Linked DNA regions of Homo sapiens: region 2 is linked to region 1. Evidence: promoter capture Hi-C in 16 types of primary human blood cells and fetal thymus (Javierre and others, 2016). All regions are on one chromosome and are shown on one strand. The core of a region is centred on a gene start or on the middle of the fragment in contact, and the rest is flanking DNA. Distances in the headings are between cores, read along the strand shown.

The links. Contacts are between HindIII fragments. The CHiCAGO score rates a contact against its expected background, and 5 or more counts as called.
Region 2: a fragment that was not itself captured here is called in contact with the fragment with the promoter of COA1 in region 1 in 15 of 17 cell types (naive CD4 T cells, naive CD8 T cells, naive B cells and 12 more); the score reaches 17.8 in naive CD4 T cells.

The regions. Positions count from the first base shown.
Region 1 is chr7:43,727,879-43,733,115 of GRCh38, reverse strand. It overlaps COA1 (cytochrome c oxidase assembly factor 1), which reads left to right and starts at 3,593. Exons shown (of 6, transcript NM_018224.4): 1 at 3,593-3,687. RefSeq lists enhancers at 3,283-3,482, 2,849-3,577, 3,578-4,307. The HindIII fragment of the contact is 9,306 bases long and covers 2,940-5,237 here.
Region 2 is chr7:42,919,768-42,925,584 of GRCh38, reverse strand. It overlaps PSMA2 (proteasome 20S subunit alpha 2), which reads left to right. Exons shown (of 8, transcript NM_002787.5): 4 at 788-910; 5 at 2,179-2,260; 6 at 3,654-3,727. It also overlaps the pseudogene LOC105375252. Among named protein-coding and RNA genes, the nearest start is that of PSMA2, 9.5 kb to the left of the region's middle. The HindIII fragment of the contact is 5,758 bases long and covers 1-4,282 here.

The sequences.
Region 1 (5,237 bases), core at 2,344-4,843:
ATTTAAGACTGTTATATCTTCTTGATGATCTAACCCAATTATTATAAAATGTCCTTTATTTTTTGCAATCAGCATATTTGAACAGCTACAATTTCCTATAACAAAATTATAGGAGGTGCACATTATTTCCTATAACAAACATGTAGAGCATGTGCTTGGAGTACATGTAAAAGCAAACACAAAAGCAAAAAACAAAAAACATGTAGAGCAAGCATTAACTTTACATTAAACAGGACATATTGTAAGAGATAAATAACTTTTTCAGGGTTAAAAATCAGGATATCACAGGTGAATTTCTTGTAAACAAACTAGGCAGGACTGAATTTCATGCTGGTAGTAAGATAAGCAAGAAAGGACATTCATACCAACCTAGCTAATGTTAATTTTCTCAGTGTCTTTGAGGTAAATACTGTCTAACTTTTACTTATTTTTATGACAGGACATTATGGCACGCTCAATGCTTTGTTTTCTCAAAGCTCTTATGCCAAAATTTTCTTCTTTCTCTCAATAGGTGGATAGTTCCTTAACATGATAAAAGATGTCTACTTCAGTCCTTAAAACCAGCATCATGCTTAATGGGAAAATTCTAAAGATATCTCATTAAAGATAGGAATAAGACATAAAAGTCTACTGTCATTATTATTATTAAATATTTTACTGGAGATACTAGCCAAAACAATTAGATATGAGAAAGTAGAGGTATAAAACTTGGAAAGAAGTAGGTAAAACTATTTCAATGATAAGATTGCAATCTTAGAAATTCTACCAGAATGAACTCCAAACAATAAAGCAACTTAGTAAGGCAGTGGATCACAATATTAATATGCAGGAAATGATACTTTCATGTATACATACAACTACGATGTGTAGTAACCTCATTCAGATTTGATAGTTATAGGATCCTGCTGCTCTTGAGTGAATCTCAAAGCAGCCATTTAACCACTTAACAGTAGCCCTCATACAGCATTATAGTCAGCCCCTCCTCTCTTCACCTCCTACCCCTTCCCTGGCTCCTTAGTTTAAAAGTATCAAAACAGACCCTTTCTTTAAATATATAGAAAAAGAGAGGTAGAATGTGTATTTTGATGGGTAATTTTGGCTATAAGAAACAGAATCCCTGACTTAAGGTGAGTTAATAATAACTAAAATTTATTAAGCACTTAAAATACTTACAATATGACCAGCACTATTTTAACCCATTTAATCTTTATGGCATCTCTATCAGAAAACAGTAAGGATCCCAGCACTCTGGGAGGCCAAGGTGGGTGGATCACTGAGGTCAGGAGTTCAAGAGAAGCCTGGCCAACATGGTGAAACCCCTTCTCTACTAAAAATACAAAAATTAGCCAGGCGTGGCAGTGCATGCCTGTAGTTACAGCTACTTGGGAGGCTGAAGCAGGAGAATTGCTTGAACCCGGGAGGCAGAGGTTGCAGTGAGCTGAGATCATGCCACTGCATTCCTGCCTGGGCGACAGAGTGAGACTCAGTCTCAGAAAAACAGAAAACAAAAACAATAAGGAAACTTATTAGACATTCCTACAAGGCATTCAGATACAGGGTGAGCTCCAGGTTTGGAATGATGTCACCAAGGACATTGTTTTATAACTTGTTCAGTTGTCCTCAGCATTGGTCCATCAGTTTTATTCCTTGTGATGGGCAAGATGGCTACTAATGACAGTGTGGGATAGATGTTTCGACGTCAAGAGGACAGTATATCAGAAACTTTCTCCTGAGCATGAAATAGAGGTCCTTTCCTTCAGTCAGATTGCGCCAACCTGGGTCATATACTCGTTCCTTGATTAGCAACTATTTCCAAAAAAATTCTGTGTGAAGACTGGTTTAATCAGTATCATTTTGATTCTGGGAACAGGGCAGCTATCTGAATAAAATAAGGATTTTGGTACAAAGGAGTTAGAGGAAAATGAATATTGGATAGGTAACATTATTCACTATAGAGTTTTGTTTTTAATGTAAAATTTAGACGACAAAAAAATTCTGTGTGATGACTGGTTTAATCAGTATCATTTTGATTCTGGGAACAGGGCAGCTATCTGAATAAAATAAGGATTTTGGTACAAAGGAGTTAGAGGAAAATGAATATTGGATAGGTAACATTATTCACTATAGAGTTTTGTTTTTAATGTAAAATTTAGACGAAAACTTTAGCAGATTTAAGTCCAGTGATAGAAATGTTAAGTTCTGAGTTTTCAAGCAAATGGTCAGAAAAGCCTATTTAATGTTTTATTACTTACAAAGTAAACATATTTCTCTTTCTGGTACAGAACGGGAGCTAATTGATCTCGGGTTCATTTTCATGAACGTTGTATGAAATGCACATATACCAAACCTCATAAGCTTTTTATTAGTTGATTTATTCTTTGAAATATTAAGCTTGGTGTAAGGTATTATAACCTCAATCTCTTTGAAAATGTAATAAGTCAATAATCAATGTTGCATCAATGAATATTACTCAGTGGATGCCTATTTTATTTCTTCTTTTTCTCTAAGAACCATTTAAATAGTCCTTATGGCCGAGCACTTCACAATCTGATTAGTTTCTATTAATTCTTTGGAAAAGAAACATTCTGGGAAGTCAGAATTCAGCGGTAGGTTGCTTTGATAATGTGCTCATTTAGCTAGTGGATTCCAGAGTGATAGAATGTATGTTTGGCAACCTAATTGTTGTGGAGGAAGAAAAGAACTTCTGTTAGAAGTTTTTAAAAAAGTTTAAAAATTGTTTTTACCTCATCAAAAGTTTGATGTCTTGTGAGTTTTATAGCATGCATAATATATTAATGCCATACATGACACATGTAAATATATATATATTTTTTCTGATAGGGATGTGTGAGCAAGAGTTTAAAGAAGAATGCCCCAGTCTAAAGTTAATTAGTCTTGGAGTGATGGCTTCGCAGAGGAAAGATACTGGATTTCAAGCTTGACATTAAGGTGATAATAGTGGTGACTATGGAATAATCAATATAAAAATAATAACAGCTAACAGTTACTGAGCGCCTACAAACTGCCAGACACTACTCTAAGTGCTTCACATCCTCATAACAAATTTATGAGGTAAATGCTATTATTATCCACCAGCCTTCTGAAATTTTCTTACCCCGTTACTCCCTGGTGTTAACTGGGTACTTAATTTGTCGAATAAAATAAAATTTAGTGCTGCCAAATTTGTCAGCTGAACGGGGCGGCAGGAATTTCAGTGCTAGAGTGGGGGGCCAGACGGCCCGGGGCTTCGTGTCCTTGGAGGCCAGCGGAAGCGCCGCATACCTGTGAGGAGCAACGTGAGCCGGTGGCTTATATTTCCTGGGCTAGTGCTACTGGACTGAATGCATTTGCAATAACCGGACGCAGAAAAAAAAAAAAAAAGCGGGGACCAGGGGAGGCGAAACCCTTCCCGGCGCGAGTCCGAGCGTCTGAGAAGCAGAAGCCACACGTCCCGGCGACCTAAGTTCTGGATCAGCCGGCCGGAGGACCCGTGTTAGCATTTACAATCCGAGGTGAGCTGAAGCCTCCGGTTGTCCCGGTTCGACGCTCTAGCCCTGCGAGCAGCCGACGCCGGAAGTCTCTACTGCTCCCCGCTGGCGCGCAGGACCGCGGGCATTTACCCGTGCTTTCCCAAGCCTGGAAGAACTCGTCATGCTCTTTGTAGCGTGGTGCTTCTGTTGCTCACAGGTTAGTCTCCCGCGGTATAAGAGTCTCCGTCTTCCCCCCAGCAAGAAGCGTTTGTTCCTGCAATTCGGGGGGCCGCCTTTGCGCGCGGGGTGCGCTGCTTCTTGGAGAGTTCCCTCACGGGTCACATCGCGGAGGTTCGCGCCGGCGCCGGGTCGCGGCCTCCCTGCGCAGCTTCTTTGGCACCTGGTAACCTTCAGTGGCTCCGTCCGCTCGGAGTTAGGAGGCTGTGTCGAGCTAACCTTGACCTTGTCCTGCAGTTTTTGCTGACCATCCCCAACAGCACACTGTAAAGAGTTAGGGTCCTCTCGAAGAGTTGGGACTGGGCACTTTTGTTGGTAGTGCTAAATTTCAACACCCTGAGGAGTACGCTGCCCAAATTATTGTAGGAAAGAATTACCTGGTTTAGTGGTTATAATACTTTTTGTCCCCACCACACTTGAATAACAGAAAAACCCTCCCAACAGGGGCTGACTGCAAAAGTGATTTTCTGTGTAGGGGACATTGGATGTATTTATGTATATATCAGTGCCTATCAGTCTGTATGTGTGTTTGGGGGTGGATGCTGTGTAATTTAAAAAAATCTATGGAGATTCTGATAATTTGATAACCTGTTTCTCCGGTCTTCCCCTGATTCCTCCCCATTCTCCCCGGAGGGCTATTGCTTTATTTCTGAGGTGGCTCACGTTTGGATAGAAGTAGCAACTCTCCGCTTACACCTGCACGTTTAAAACGCATATCAGATTGTGTTATTTCTGTCCTCAGAATCTTCCTGGCCTTCCCGTTGCTTTCAGGATAATACACATTTCTTAGCCTAACTTCAAGGGCCTACAGGGTCTTGATTCTGCTGAGTTTTTCAGTCTTTGCTACTTTCATGGAAAACACACCTGCAGGTACACTCATATTATGCTCCCACCATGCCAGTCTACGGTAATTTAATAACTTTAGATATGGCAAAGTTTTATATGGTTTACTCAAGTTTTAATTTTTGTTCTAGCATTTAGCCAAAATCGATTGAATTCATAATATTGCTAGGCACTGTTTTAAAAACGGGATAAAATGAAAACAAAACAAAACACAAAACAAAAGTCTTCAGTCCTTTAAAAAAATAAAACAGCTTCCTGACACATAGTTCACCTACCGTAGAGTTCACCATTTAAAACGTAGCGGTGCCTCACGCCTGTAATCCCAGCACTTTGGGAGGCCGAGGCGGGTGGATCACGAGGTCAGGAGATCAAGACCGTCCTGGCTAACACGGTGAAACCCCGTCTCCACTAAAAATACAAAAAATTAGCCGGGCGTGGTGGCGGGAGCCTGTAGTCCCAGCTACTTGGGAGGCTGAGGCAGGAGGATGGTGTGAACCCGGGAGGTGGAGCTTGCAGTGAGCCGAGATTGCGCCACTGCACTCCAGCCTGGGCGAGAGAGCTAGACTCCATCTCAAAAAAAAAAAAAAAGAAAGAAAACCTAAAAGTAATTAGTACATTAGTACATTCACAAAGTTGTACAACCATCATCATAAAATATGCTGTAATCTTCTTCACCTTCATTAGTTG
Region 2 (5,817 bases), core at 154-2,653, 810 kb after region 1:
AGACAGGGTCATGCTGGGTATTGCTTTTATCATTTTAAACTGCACTGGAGAAAACTAAAGCCTTATGCCCAGTTCCTGTATAGTAGAAGAGGAATATGTCAGAAAGGAAAGTCCATTAAACAGAGAAAAGAGGAGTTATGTACTCTATCTCCCTCCTCTTTCACATCTGAGTTATTCTCTTTAAAGTAACCCAGGGTCTTGCCCAGGCAGGTCTGAAACTCCTGGCCTCAAGTGATCTTCCTGCCTCAGCCTTTTAAAGTGTTGGGATTACAGGCGTGAAACACTGCACCTAGCCGAATTTTACATTTTTAGTTACAAGTAGTTTCTTACTGTTTCTTAATCTCTGAAGGGTACTCCGTGAAGCACAGGCAGAGAGATTGAAACAGTCTGCAGAAAGTAGTGACCTGAAGTGAGAAAAATATGCCCAGAATTGTGTGCCTGTGTGTTTATGTGTGCTTGTGTGTGTGGGCTGGGGTGAGCTGTAAAAAGACAAGCGGCTGCCCTTGGATGGGGGTACAGTCTTGAAGAAGCCGTGGAGCAAGATAAAGTTCTCATTTTTGTACATTAAATCTGTTACTTTTAAGCTAACTGGTACTCTGATGCTCTGATATTTTCTTCTATATCAACTGGAATCCAGTGTTAGAGTAAGACTAGCTTTGATCCAATAGCCACCATTAAAGAGATACATGTTAAACTTGTGCTGCAGGTACATGCCTGTAAAAGGAGAATGAGTCTTCAGGTAGTAGAGCATGTTCTGTGTAATTAAATCTTATTTTTTCCTTGTTAGAGTGCTTGTGCACAGAGCTCGAAAACTAGCTCAACAATACTATCTTGTGTACCAAGAACCCATTCCTACAGCTCAGCTGGTACAGAGAGTAGCTTCTGTGATGCAAGAATATACTCAGTCAGGGTAAGTTGCTTTTTTTACTTGAAATGTGCCATGAATTGTAGGGGGAAGTTATTTTAAAGAGTAGGTATATAAATAGAGTGGGACTTACCATTTCTGTATTTGCTTAACAAGTGGACAGAATCACTATGATGAATATTTCTGATCTTATCTGGCTCTGGAGTATTTATTTAAGGAAAAAAATGTGTTTTCTTGTTGCTTATGTAACAGCAGAAAGCAGCTTCTAGATATACAAAGTTCTTTTGCCAGTGATTAAAACACTTTATGGACAGACAATCATTGCAACTTTAAATTTTTCTTTTTTTTTTTTTTTTTTTTTTTTTTGAGTCAGAGTCTCACTCTGTCGCCCAGGCTGGAGTGCAATGGCATGATCCCGGCTCACTGCAACCTCTGCCTCCTGGGATCAAGCAATTATGCGTCAGCCTCCTGAGTAGCTGGCACCACAGGCGTGCATCACCATGCTTAGCTAATTTTTTTTTTTTTTTTGTATTTTTTTGGTAGAGATGTGGTTTCACTATGTTGGCCAGGCTGGTTTCAAACTCCTGACCTCAAGTGATCTGCCTGTCTTGGCCTCCCAAAGTGTTGGGACTGTGCCTGGCCGCTACTTTCAAATTTATCTTTCTAACCAGAAATGATGGTAAGCACATGATGAAAGCAGCTCTTGGACGTATTCATATTTCTTTTCATTCCCCAGTTTCTTAAGTTTGGGTGTAGATGAGATAGCATATAGGTAGTTGTTGATACGTAAACCTAGTGGAAAAGCTGCATTAACTGAAAGTTGTCATTTTGTAATAGGTAAACCTAGTGGAAAAGCTGCATTAACTGAAAATTGTCATTTTGTAATAGGTAAACCTAGTGGAAAAGCTGCAGTAATTGAAAGTTGTCATTTTGTAATAGGTAAACCTAGTGGAAAAGCTGCATTAACTGAAAGTTGTCATTTTGTAATAGGTAAACCTAGTGGAAAAGCTGCATTAATTGAAAGTTGTCATTTTATTAGGACACTAAATGTTACTACACACTTATTAACCCCAGTGTCTTAGGTAACACTGTTCAATTCAAATTTTTTTTTATTTGGCTACCATTCCTCACTACCATAAAGAGAATTAGTTTTGAATTGATTCATTCAGAAAGGTGTTAAATACTTTCTAAGGAACTTAAAAGTCTAATTCAGTTTGCCTGATAATTTGCTTTATTTGAGAGTACTGATAAATTCTTGAGGATGACTTTAACACCATGAAAATGCCAAGTAATTTTCATTTTCCTCCCTGCAGTGGTGTTCGTCCATTTGGAGTTTCTTTACTTATTTGTGGTTGGAATGAGGGACGACCATATTTATTTCAGTCAGATCCATCTGTAAGTATCATTTAATGTATTTGAGGGATTTGTTAAAAGTGCTCTTTGAATATCTAACAGAAATAGAAGCCATAAAAACTTTACAATTTAGCAGTATTTTCTTCTTTTCTCTTGGGCTTTAGAAAGTATGAGGTTGTGCATTTTTGTGTGTATATTTAAAATTTTGGTAATTTGGTCTTCTGATAAGGAAGCTGTATTAGTTCTACCCTCTTTTGCCATGTTCATTAACTTCATACACTTGGGTGATTTGTTGAAATAGTTATCAAATGTATTTAAACCTGTTACTTCGGGAAATACTGCAATTGAAGATGTGGATCTGGAGGACAGTGTTGTAGTGTTTGCCATCAGTTGAATCTTGGGGCTGACTTGAGTGAGTTTTCCAGCAAAAACATTAATTTATCTTGAATTCAGTGTTTTGCAAAAATGATTGTGTAATTGGTACCTTGGGTAAGTTGTCTGCTCTAATGCAGAAGAATGGTATCTGAATAGAAGGTGTTTGTAATGGATAATACTACTCCACATCTGTCCCATTTGCTATGAGAACCTTAAGACAAAATTCAAGATTAGGAAATGATCTTTCATGTTTTATGGATTATTAGATAATTACAGGTTCACTCAATGCAAACCTTATAATCTACTTTTATAACCTGAGATGGCAAAAGAAAAATATTTTGGTTGTTAATTAAATCAGAAAAATAAGTATTTTGGGAACTTTGATAGTGTTGTTACTCCATCTCTGAGCTTCCAAAGCTAAATGACAGGCCCTCTTATCTTCCTTTCCAGAAGGTAGCAGAAGCCACCATTTCTGGAATCCTGATTTTATCTTTTGTCCTATTTTCCTCTGTTGTGTCTAAAAAACAATTGTTTTCATTTAAAACATATTGGATTATGTTTCTTTTGGTATTTTTTTCTAATGAGATGCTCTCTTTTTAATTCACTAATGATCAAGAGTTGATCACCATTTTTCAGATTTATATGATAGATTTTTAAATCGCTTCAGTCTATTAAACTAAAATACTACTCTTGATTATTTGCTTTAAGTTAACCTCAATTTCTTTTAACTGGATTTTTTACATAATTTTACACTTAATTGCATCATCACCAGCTCATCAGTTTGATGAGTTCTGATATATGTAAATGCCTGAAGAAACCATTACTACAATGAGGATATCAAAAATTTCCAGAACCTCCAAAAGTTTCTTCATGCCTTTTTGGTTTCCATCCTTCTAGCCTTCTTAAAAAATAACCTATTCTGTGACGTTTTCCATTCTAATAATATTCTGTGACCTTCGAAGTTAGAGAACAATTAATAAAGCTAAAAATTAAATGGCAGGGCAATATAATTGTATTTGTGTTTTAAAATATGGTTTTTTACTCTTTCTTTCCTGATTAGGGAGCTTACTTTGCCTGGAAAGCTACAGCAATGGGAAAGAACTATGTGAATGGGAAGACTTTCCTTGAGAAAAGGTAGGCCTACTCATTGTAACTGCATTCTTTAGCAAACTCACTTTATGGTTTTTGGTGCTCTTTAAGTAAATTAATATCATGGGACTAAAGAAACTTGCTATATTACTCTGTATATGAATCTAGTTACAGATAAACCAAAAACTTCTCTCCCTTCTAGTTTCCTAGACTTCAGTATATTAAGTGGTAATTAATATTCATTTCCTAAGGAGTTCTCTTTCTACATTCTATGGTTTCCTAAATGCTTTTGGTTTTTTTACTTTTTACTTCACTTTTTGTGCCATTTCAGGAGGGAAAAAAAAGAACATTGAATCTGGAATAAAACATTTGGGGAGACAAATTTTTAAATGATTTAATGATAACAGTTTACGACAGTAAAAAAAATTGTGAAACCAAATGCCTGGAGTTGAAGGTATATTAAATATTTGATACATGTGCTTGATAAAAAGTGGAGCACTATGTAAAAATCTGTCGGTGCCCAAGTACAAGCTGCTCTTACTTATTTCCAGCTGTATTCTAGTCTCAGTGTTACTGTAGTCCTTCGGGACTCTCCAAGCTTTTGAAGAAGAAAATGTTTTATTTCTTGATATGTAATAGTTGCACATATTTTTGCAGTACATGTGATATTTTGATACCTGTATACAGTGTCAAATCAGGGTAATTGGATATCCATTACCTCAAACATCTGTCTTTTCTTTGTGTTGGGAACATAGCAGATCTTCTAGCTGTTCTGAAATATACAGTAAATTGTTAACGATAATTTCCTGACTGTACTACTGGACACCAGAACTTATTCCTCCTGTCTGACCGTATTTTTAGACCCCTTAACCAACTTCCTTCAGTTCTTCTTCCCTTCTCCCTTCCCAGCCTCTGGTAACCACTGTGCTACTCTCTCCCTCCATGAGATCCACTTTTTTAGCTCCCACATATGAGTGACAACATGCAATATTTATCTTTCTGTGCCTGGCTTATTTTGCTTAACGTAATGACCTCGAGTTCCATCCATGTTGCTGCAAATGACAGGATTTCATTTTTTTATGGCTGAATAATAATAAAAAACTTCGTAACTCCGTTTAACAGATGAGCCTTCACAGTACATTTTTCACGTAACGTTAAGGTTATTAAAAATCTTAGGCCTGGATTTAAATGGTAAACTTAATCTTAGGCTCTTAAAGCACTTTTTCATTTTTCTTTTATATATTAATGAGTCTTCCAAAGATTTCACATTGTTATTACATGATATGTTATGATTTGTTTTATTTTTTGTTTCAGAGGCATTTTATTTAGACAACTAAAAATAATTAGATGTTCAGAACCAGTGTACAATGAAAGAAATTAAACCAGTTACTTTATCATGTATTCCCTCTTTACAACCAAAGCAAAAAACAATAGCAACAAAGACATTCTGCTTTAAGGGAAAAGTCAGACAAATAAGCCAATATATTTTTCTTCTCCATAATGACATAAACAGCTGCAAGAACTCTTAATTGTAATAAGAGAAGTTGGATGTTATCTTGTACATATTCATTAAAAAGATGACAGGCCATTGTACTACAAGAGGATAACTCAACCTCCCTTCATCTGATACTCTTGAGATTTCACTTATGGGTAACACCATGTTAGTTGTTTCAGCAATGGAGCTAATTCATATTCCTCATTATTTATTGCTGTTTTTGCCTTAAGCAGAGAGTAACTCTGGAAGGCTGATGCTTTTCTCTGCTTGCTCGTTCTAGTCCAGTTGTATGCTGTCTGTGGCACATGCTTGATGTTCAGGCCTTAACTTGAGGAGTTGAAGAATAGATGGAATCTGAATTCTCTGAAGCAATTTCTTCTAGCTCTTCTCTTGTCTTTGGAAAACCAATCTTTGGCTTTGCCAGCTCACCAGTATCTTCTTCAGGAAGCACACATTTCCAAAGGCCATATGTTTTTCCTACCACAGTTTGCCAGTCTCAGTGTTCCATCTTCAGAACCACTGGCATAGAGTTCTCCATCAGGATCAAATCTCACACAGTGAATAGGACCAGAGTGTCCTTTGTAGGATTCTAATTCTTCTCCACTATTATCATCATACTTATAAGTTTAACATCTTCACC